2 separate regions of the Homo sapiens genome follow, and region 2 is linked to region 1. Evidence: promoter capture Hi-C in 16 types of primary human blood cells and fetal thymus (Javierre and others, 2016). All regions are on one chromosome and are shown on one strand. Each heading gives the region's core, a stretch centred on a gene start or on the middle of the fragment in contact. The rest is flanking DNA. Distances are from core to core; before and after follow the strand shown. Region 1 holds the start of KCTD10 (potassium channel tetramerization domain containing 10). Region 2 overlaps ANKRD13A (ankyrin repeat domain 13A).

What was found. The method cuts DNA at HindIII sites, captures the fragments that hold promoters and counts their contacts. A CHiCAGO score of 5 or more calls a contact.
Region 2: a contact is called between a fragment that was not itself captured here and the fragment with the promoter of KCTD10 in region 1, in 1 of 17 cell types (neutrophils). The highest score is 6.6, in neutrophils.

The regions. Positions count from the first base shown.
Region 1 is chr12:109,475,678-109,478,867 of GRCh38, reverse strand. KCTD10 (potassium channel tetramerization domain containing 10) reads left to right here and starts at 1,568. Exons shown (of 7, transcript NM_031954.5): 1 at 1,568-1,608. The coding sequence starts at 1,606. It overlaps UBE3B (ubiquitin protein ligase E3B), which reads right to left and starts at 1,234. Exons shown (of 28, transcript NM_130466.4): 1 at 759-1,234. RefSeq lists enhancers at 1,322-1,411, 1,920-2,655. The HindIII fragment of the contact is 6,971 bases long and covers 1-3,190 here.
Region 2 is chr12:110,035,939-110,039,128 of GRCh38, reverse strand. ANKRD13A (ankyrin repeat domain 13A) reads right to left here. Exons shown (of 15, transcript NM_033121.2): 14 at 2,801-2,868; 15 at 1-1,770. The coding sequence ends at 1,575. Among named protein-coding and RNA genes, the nearest start is that of C12orf76, 11 kb to the left of the region's middle. The HindIII fragment of the contact is 5,067 bases long and covers 1-3,190 here.

The DNA.
Region 1 (3,190 bases), core at 319-2,818:
CAGACGGTGTATCAGACACTGCACAGATTATTTAACCAACTTGTCTTTTCAACAGCTCTATCAGTTCTCGATAATCTTTGTTTTTTTGAGACGGAGTCTCACTTTGTTGCCCAGGCTGGAGTGCAGCGGCGCGAACTCTGCTCACTGCAACCTCCGCCTCCCAGGTTCAAGTGATTCTCCTGCTTCAGCCTCCCAAGTCGCTGGGATTAAAGGCGCCCGCCACCACGCCCGGCTAATTTTTGTATTTTTAGTAGAGATGCGGTTTCACCATGTTGGCCACGCTGGTCTTGAACTTCTGACCTCAGGTGATCCGCCCGCCTCGGCCTCCCAAAGTGCTAGGATTACAGGCGTGAGCCACCGTGGCCAGCCTCAATAATCTAATTTTTATTTAAAGAATAGGAAACACGACTTAAAGAGACTATTCATATTAACAGCTACTATTTATTGAAAGCTACAGCCTATCTAAGGTGGATGCTTTTGAATCTGAATCCATGTATATCCAAAACAGTTATTTATCACTAAGTAAAACAAACAAGATCCAGGGCTCCCCCGTTCACAGAATGGCCAAGCAAAGAGAAGTTGAGAGTGCAAGATTGCCTGTGGGGGCTAAGCTGGAGTTAAATTACGATCAAGTTTTTCTTTATTCAGAACTAGGTGTCAGGCACGGTACTAAAACGTATTCACACCCTCTGTGAAACCTGCTAATTACTCCATTTACACAGAAGGAAACTGAGGCTCAGAGAGGTGAGGGAACTCACCCAAGGTCACACAGCGAGCGAACAGTATTCGAACTCCAGTTTAGGTGAGTCCTGGGGCCCAGAGTCTTTCCTCGGCATCAACAACCACAGGAACAAATCACCCAGCATTAGTCCGTTTATAAAGGCCTACCGTCCCCAAAGTGAAAAGAGGTGGAAAGGGCCGCGGAAAGAGCCCCTGGAGCACACACGCCAGATCCCAGCACTTGTTCCTCCGACCTGGCCAGGCAGGGACTGTGCCCTAGAGCCAACTCCCTCAAAGTCCCCAGCCCCACCACTCGGAGGACTGACGACCCAGTTCTCCCGCAGGCCGGACCGCAGGCCCTACCGGCCTACCCGCAGGCCGACCTTTATTCGCCGGAGGTCCCCGCACTTGGGGTCGGGGCCGCAGCTGCCACTGTCTCAGCCCAAAACACCCGAGTTCTGCCAGACCCGGGGCAGCAGCCGACGCACTACCGCCATCTTGCCCCGCGGTGTTCGCTTTCAGAACCCCGCCAGGAAGCAAGCATCCAGTTCCGGAAAATGACAGTTCCGCAGAGCTTCTTCGCCCGGGAAGGAAAACTTCCCCACACCTTGCCTCCCCTCTGGCAGCTGAAATAGCGGAGGTGGGATAAATGCCCTCCCCAGCCGAGAAAAGCTGGAACCCACTCCGGCCGGGGAGGCTGGAAAGAAAACTGGCCCCTAGGCGCACAACGGACGGCTTAAGACGTTGCCCTCTGCGGGGCGGAAGTGGGGTGCGGACAGCGGAAGTTATCGCTCCGGCCCCGCCTCCGCCCCCGGCTGGCGTGAGCTGGGTGTTTCCTGCCTCTCTCAGTCCGGGTTTGGAGACTCCTGCGTCCTCCGACTTTTCATGGTAGGGAGGGCGGTGCCCATGGACTAGGGGTTGAGGGCGGCCGAGGGAGCTGGGCAGCAGCAGAGTATAAGAAGGGACCGAGAGGAGGGGGTGTGATGAGGGGCAGTCACGATAGTGGAGAGGCATTTGGGGGATTGGTTAGGGGAAAGGCCCGGGGTGGGGGAAGGGCTTTGGGTGGAGAATTAGGGGCGGGGGTGGTGGTAGGGAGGCTCCCTGGCGGTTAGGAATCCGGGAAGCACATTTGGGCTTGCGGAGTAGATACGTGTGTGCGTGAGGAAGGGGTGTCTCCAAGTGAGTCCTGAGTGCTGGTTGGAGATGGGAGTTGGTGATTGCGAGGAGAACAAAGAGATATCAATTGAAAACGGACATTTGGGGGTGGAAAATGAGGATTTGGAGGATTATGAAGGAGAATGAATGGGCAGGTTATGAGAAGGTGAGGTAGGATTCCTTGGGGCGGAGCGTTTGGCGTTTTGGAGGTTGTGGCTGGAGTCGCTGAGTTTCCAGGAAGTGGGGAAGGGGCTCCCAGGTGCGTCTGAACACACGGCCCAGTGAGGGAAAGAAATCGAGAGAGCCCAGCAGGCTGATGTGCGTTCAGTGCTTGGAATCCTGGGGAGAGATGCCAGGGGCCTGAGGTTAGGATACCTGCGCCACGGAGTTCAGTGCCTCAGCTGGCGCCTGGGTACCTATCTGTAACTTCCATTGAGGCCAGAGGTGACCACGCCTAAGGAGCGGAGGATGTTTCAAGATCTGTCTCTCAGCTGTGGGGTTTGTCTGCTTGGGATCCTCAAGGGTCTGTTCCCTGAGTAGCTCATTGTCCCTGGGTAGAGATGACCAAAGATTGGCCCAGATCTTCTTTCTACTTGCTTGCTTGTTTGTCACGTCCCTGGAAAGTGCAGTCTTAAGGGAAAATCAGTCCCAGTGACGCTGCTGAAGAAAAGTCAGTTATCCTGTAGCTGACGTTGACTAGTCCGCTCCATTTTGTGCAAAATAAGGACCAGCGGATGGGAAGAAGGCAGCATAAACCAGTGGTTCTCAAACTCTGGTCCCACCAGCAGCAACACCTGGTAACTTATTCAAAATGGCTGAAATTTCAAGCCCTGTCAGAGACTACTGAATCAGACATTCTTGGGGTGGAGCCCATCTATCGGTTTTAACAAGCCCTGCAAGGGATTAGACTAATGATTTCTTGATTTGGACTGTGTAATGAAAGGGGCAAAGGAGTTGGGAGTCAGAGGGCTCTTATAGGTGTGATTCCTAGTTTTCTCCCCAAAAAAGTGGGGTTGATGATAAACATCTTTCTCACTAGAACATTGAGAGAAATAGACCAAGAGTTTGTGTATTAAACACAGGGAGAGAATGTCATTTGATGGAAGTTGCAATTGGCGGTAGCTGTCTTATAAGCAAATTTTGGATGTAAAATGCTGCAATTATGTGACTTAGTTTAGTTGAAATGTAACAGCAGACTTTTCTGAGTTGTAGAAATGCCCTCAGTTTGGGAAGGTTTTATACAAGCCTCAATACAGTGTTTCTTAAACTTCTTTGCTGTAGGAATCCCCTGAGGTGATGCTTTGCCTCACATCCC
Region 2 (3,190 bases), core at 380-2,879, 560 kb before region 1:
TGCCTATACTGGCCTCATGTGCAGAAGGAATTTTGGTCAGACAATGACAAAAAAAAAAAACAAAACAGATTGTGAAATGGAATTAAAAGCACAATTCTTTGTATCTGGGAACGTTTCACTGGCAACACTAACTGTATGATACAGACGTTACCTGGAACAGTAGTTATGTTTCTCTTCCTATCCCCAAAGAAGCACAATAGAAGAAATAGACGCAAAATGGAGGAGGGTGTTGTTTACCAGGTTATTTCAGTGCAGCCTGTGGGAATGAATACACGGGCCACAGTGAGCAGTGCCCTTGGCTGTATTCCCCAGGGTTCTGTATGTTGTGCGATGGTTATATACAAGAGGGTTTGACAAAAGAGAGTTAACTACTAAAGGTATCCAAAAAAGGCCTGAGAAAATCTGGTTAAAATGTATAACCTTGTATTGCTACTGATGGGAGTTGTTTTTATATCTTTTACAAATAATAAAAAGATTGTTAAAAAATAGATTTATCCAGAAAGATGTTGATTTGAACTCTAAAAAGCAACGTGGAATCATTATTTTCCCTTTTGAATGAAGAGCCATGGAGCTCCGTGGTTTTCAGCTCCCTTTCTGGTTGCAAATCAATCCTTCCTCTGGAGTGAGTCTAGGGCATGCGGGCTCTTCCTAGGTGTCTACGTGGAAATCCTTCACTCATGCAGGTGTAGAACACACCTGGTTTGGTTCTGTGTGTTCCAATATTTTGGCCAGCTTGCCCACTTCAAGAACAAGCCTCAGGTTCCCCTAGCTGCTCCTTCAGGGACAGGATTAGCTGCCTTTGATTTAGCCTGGAGAATCCTGCTCTCAAAAGAATTGCCTTTACAAATTCAAATCAGATCCTTCGATGCGTGCAGTGAGGTGATGTGAAACTATTAGTAATGTTTAAGGCTAAGGCAACATCCATGGCCATTTGTGTATCTTAATTTGATGCAAATAGTTAACAATAATCTAAAATAGATTCTATATGTATCTCCTCTAACTTTAGCTGGGTGTGGAAGGAATGGAATCAGATAGATGGAGGAAGAATAATGACAATGTCCTAGAAACCCTGTAAAAAGGTAAAAATAAGGAGATCAGCACAGATTACCCATTTCTTTGGTGAACAGTAAAGAAGTGTCTCCAATTCTCATAGATCACACTTTACAAAGGCGGCTGCTGCTCTTATATATAAAAGCACCCTGACTCTGCAATAACTTGTCTTGTTATCACTCCTTGATAAAAATTTATCTACAAACCTGCGGGGATTGGGGTTTTGTCTAAAGCTGGTAGTAAAAATGTGACCTGCAAGCCAATACAGCTAATGGAAAGTGATGATGCTCTCCTCCCCTTAGCCTGGAGATGGGGCCTGCAATCCCTGGTCCCTTCTCCACCCCAGGGAGCAGCCTGGATGGGCCCAGGAGTCCCTGGTTCTGCACCTCTGCATAAAGAAGGGGCAGTTGTTGCCTGCTGCATGCACGCAAGGTGCAGGCCCTTAGCCCTAGGGCCCTGGTTGACACAGCATCTGTGACAGCCCACAGCCTCTGCTTTGTGCAGAGGCTCACAGGCTGAAAGGTCTATTTGTCAGTGAGTGACAGCTGTAAGACTTGCTGGAGCTCAGCCTCTTCCTCCTGGAGCCGGAGCTCCCATTCCTCCAGCTCTTTGGCAGAGAGCTCCATGGCTAGCTGCAAGTCATTATCAAAACGGCTTGTCTCGCTCAGGGCGCTGGGGCACAGGCCTTCTGTGCTGGTGAGGAGGCTCTCCTGGATGGCCCTGGGTTGGAAAACAGATAAAAAGGGAGAGTCACTACTATCATCATCATGGTGGCAGCAGTAACTACATTTCTTAACCGCTTACCAAGGGCACACTGTGCCAGGCATTTAATATGCATGATGCCAATTAATCCCACATAACTGGCGGTGTAGGTGTTGTATACGGGTGAGAAACCCCACAATCTTGCCCAAGACCACCCAACCAGTAAGTGATAGGGCTGGGAATTGAACTTGGATCTGTTTTAAAGCAAAACTCAGGTTCTTCATCAACAGGCTCTCATAGACACCTTAAGTATAAGTCTTCGTAAAATGAATCCTCGCGGTTTTTCCCGTAATCTCTGGAGCTGTTCCTCCAAACTTCCTTATCTTTACAATTATATAAACTTCCCACTGAGGACATCTAGGCCCTGTGATCATACATCATTCATAGAAGATCAAACCAATCAGAAAAAACTGACTCAGTACGTTTCCCCCAATGGCACTGACCTGTGAACCAGTCAGCAATTCTATCACCCATTCCTGGAAACTTGCTATCAAGAGTCTAGAGTTATTATAAGTAACTGCCACAAGAGGAAGCAAGAGAGCCAACACTTTAGTCTTTTTTTTTTTTGAGACGGAGTCTCGCTCTATCGCCCAGGCTGGAGTGCAGTGGCGCGATCTCGGCTCACTGCAAGCTCCGCCTCCTGGGTTTGCCATTCTCCTGCCTCAGCCTCCCGAGTAGCTGAGACTACAGGTGCCTGGCACCATGCCCGGCTAATTTTTTGTATTTTTTTTAGGAGAGACAGGGTTTCACCGTGTTAGCCAGGATGGTCTCAATCTTCTGACCTCGTGATCCGCCTGCCTCGGCCTCCCAAAATGCTGGGATTATAGGCGTGAGCCACCGCTCCTGGCCTACTTTTTCTAGTCTTTCCTGCCAGTTTGTGGCACCGTACATCTGCCTGAGGACCAAATGCACAGTGCCACGCGTCTGCTCGCCTGTGTCCAGGCCTGTGTTCACCCTGGTTTATTCCAGAGTCACGTCAGTCAATCACCTCTCATACTGGGCGTCATAGGTGTTTGTCTGGCTGATCCCTCCATTCGAAGCTGGTCCTGAAAGTTCCTGGCAAAGACAAATGTGATAGACATGAATACGTCTTAGGAGAAATTGGTGCCATTCTGGTAAGGAAACGATGGCAGCAAGAACCAAATTAAAAGTCTTTCCATGACCATTATCAATAGTGCTGTGTGAAAAGCTAACAGGGACTTGGGTTACCTCAAAAACAACACCTAAGTGGGAGGTAGTAACATGCCACAGCCTAACTCACAGCCACAACCTTCTCATCCTTTGTACAAAATCAGTCTCTTAAATACAGCTAACCCACGTGGAAGATATACACAACGAAAAGCAAAAACACAGCTGACCTTGGGCAAAGTTCAAGTGA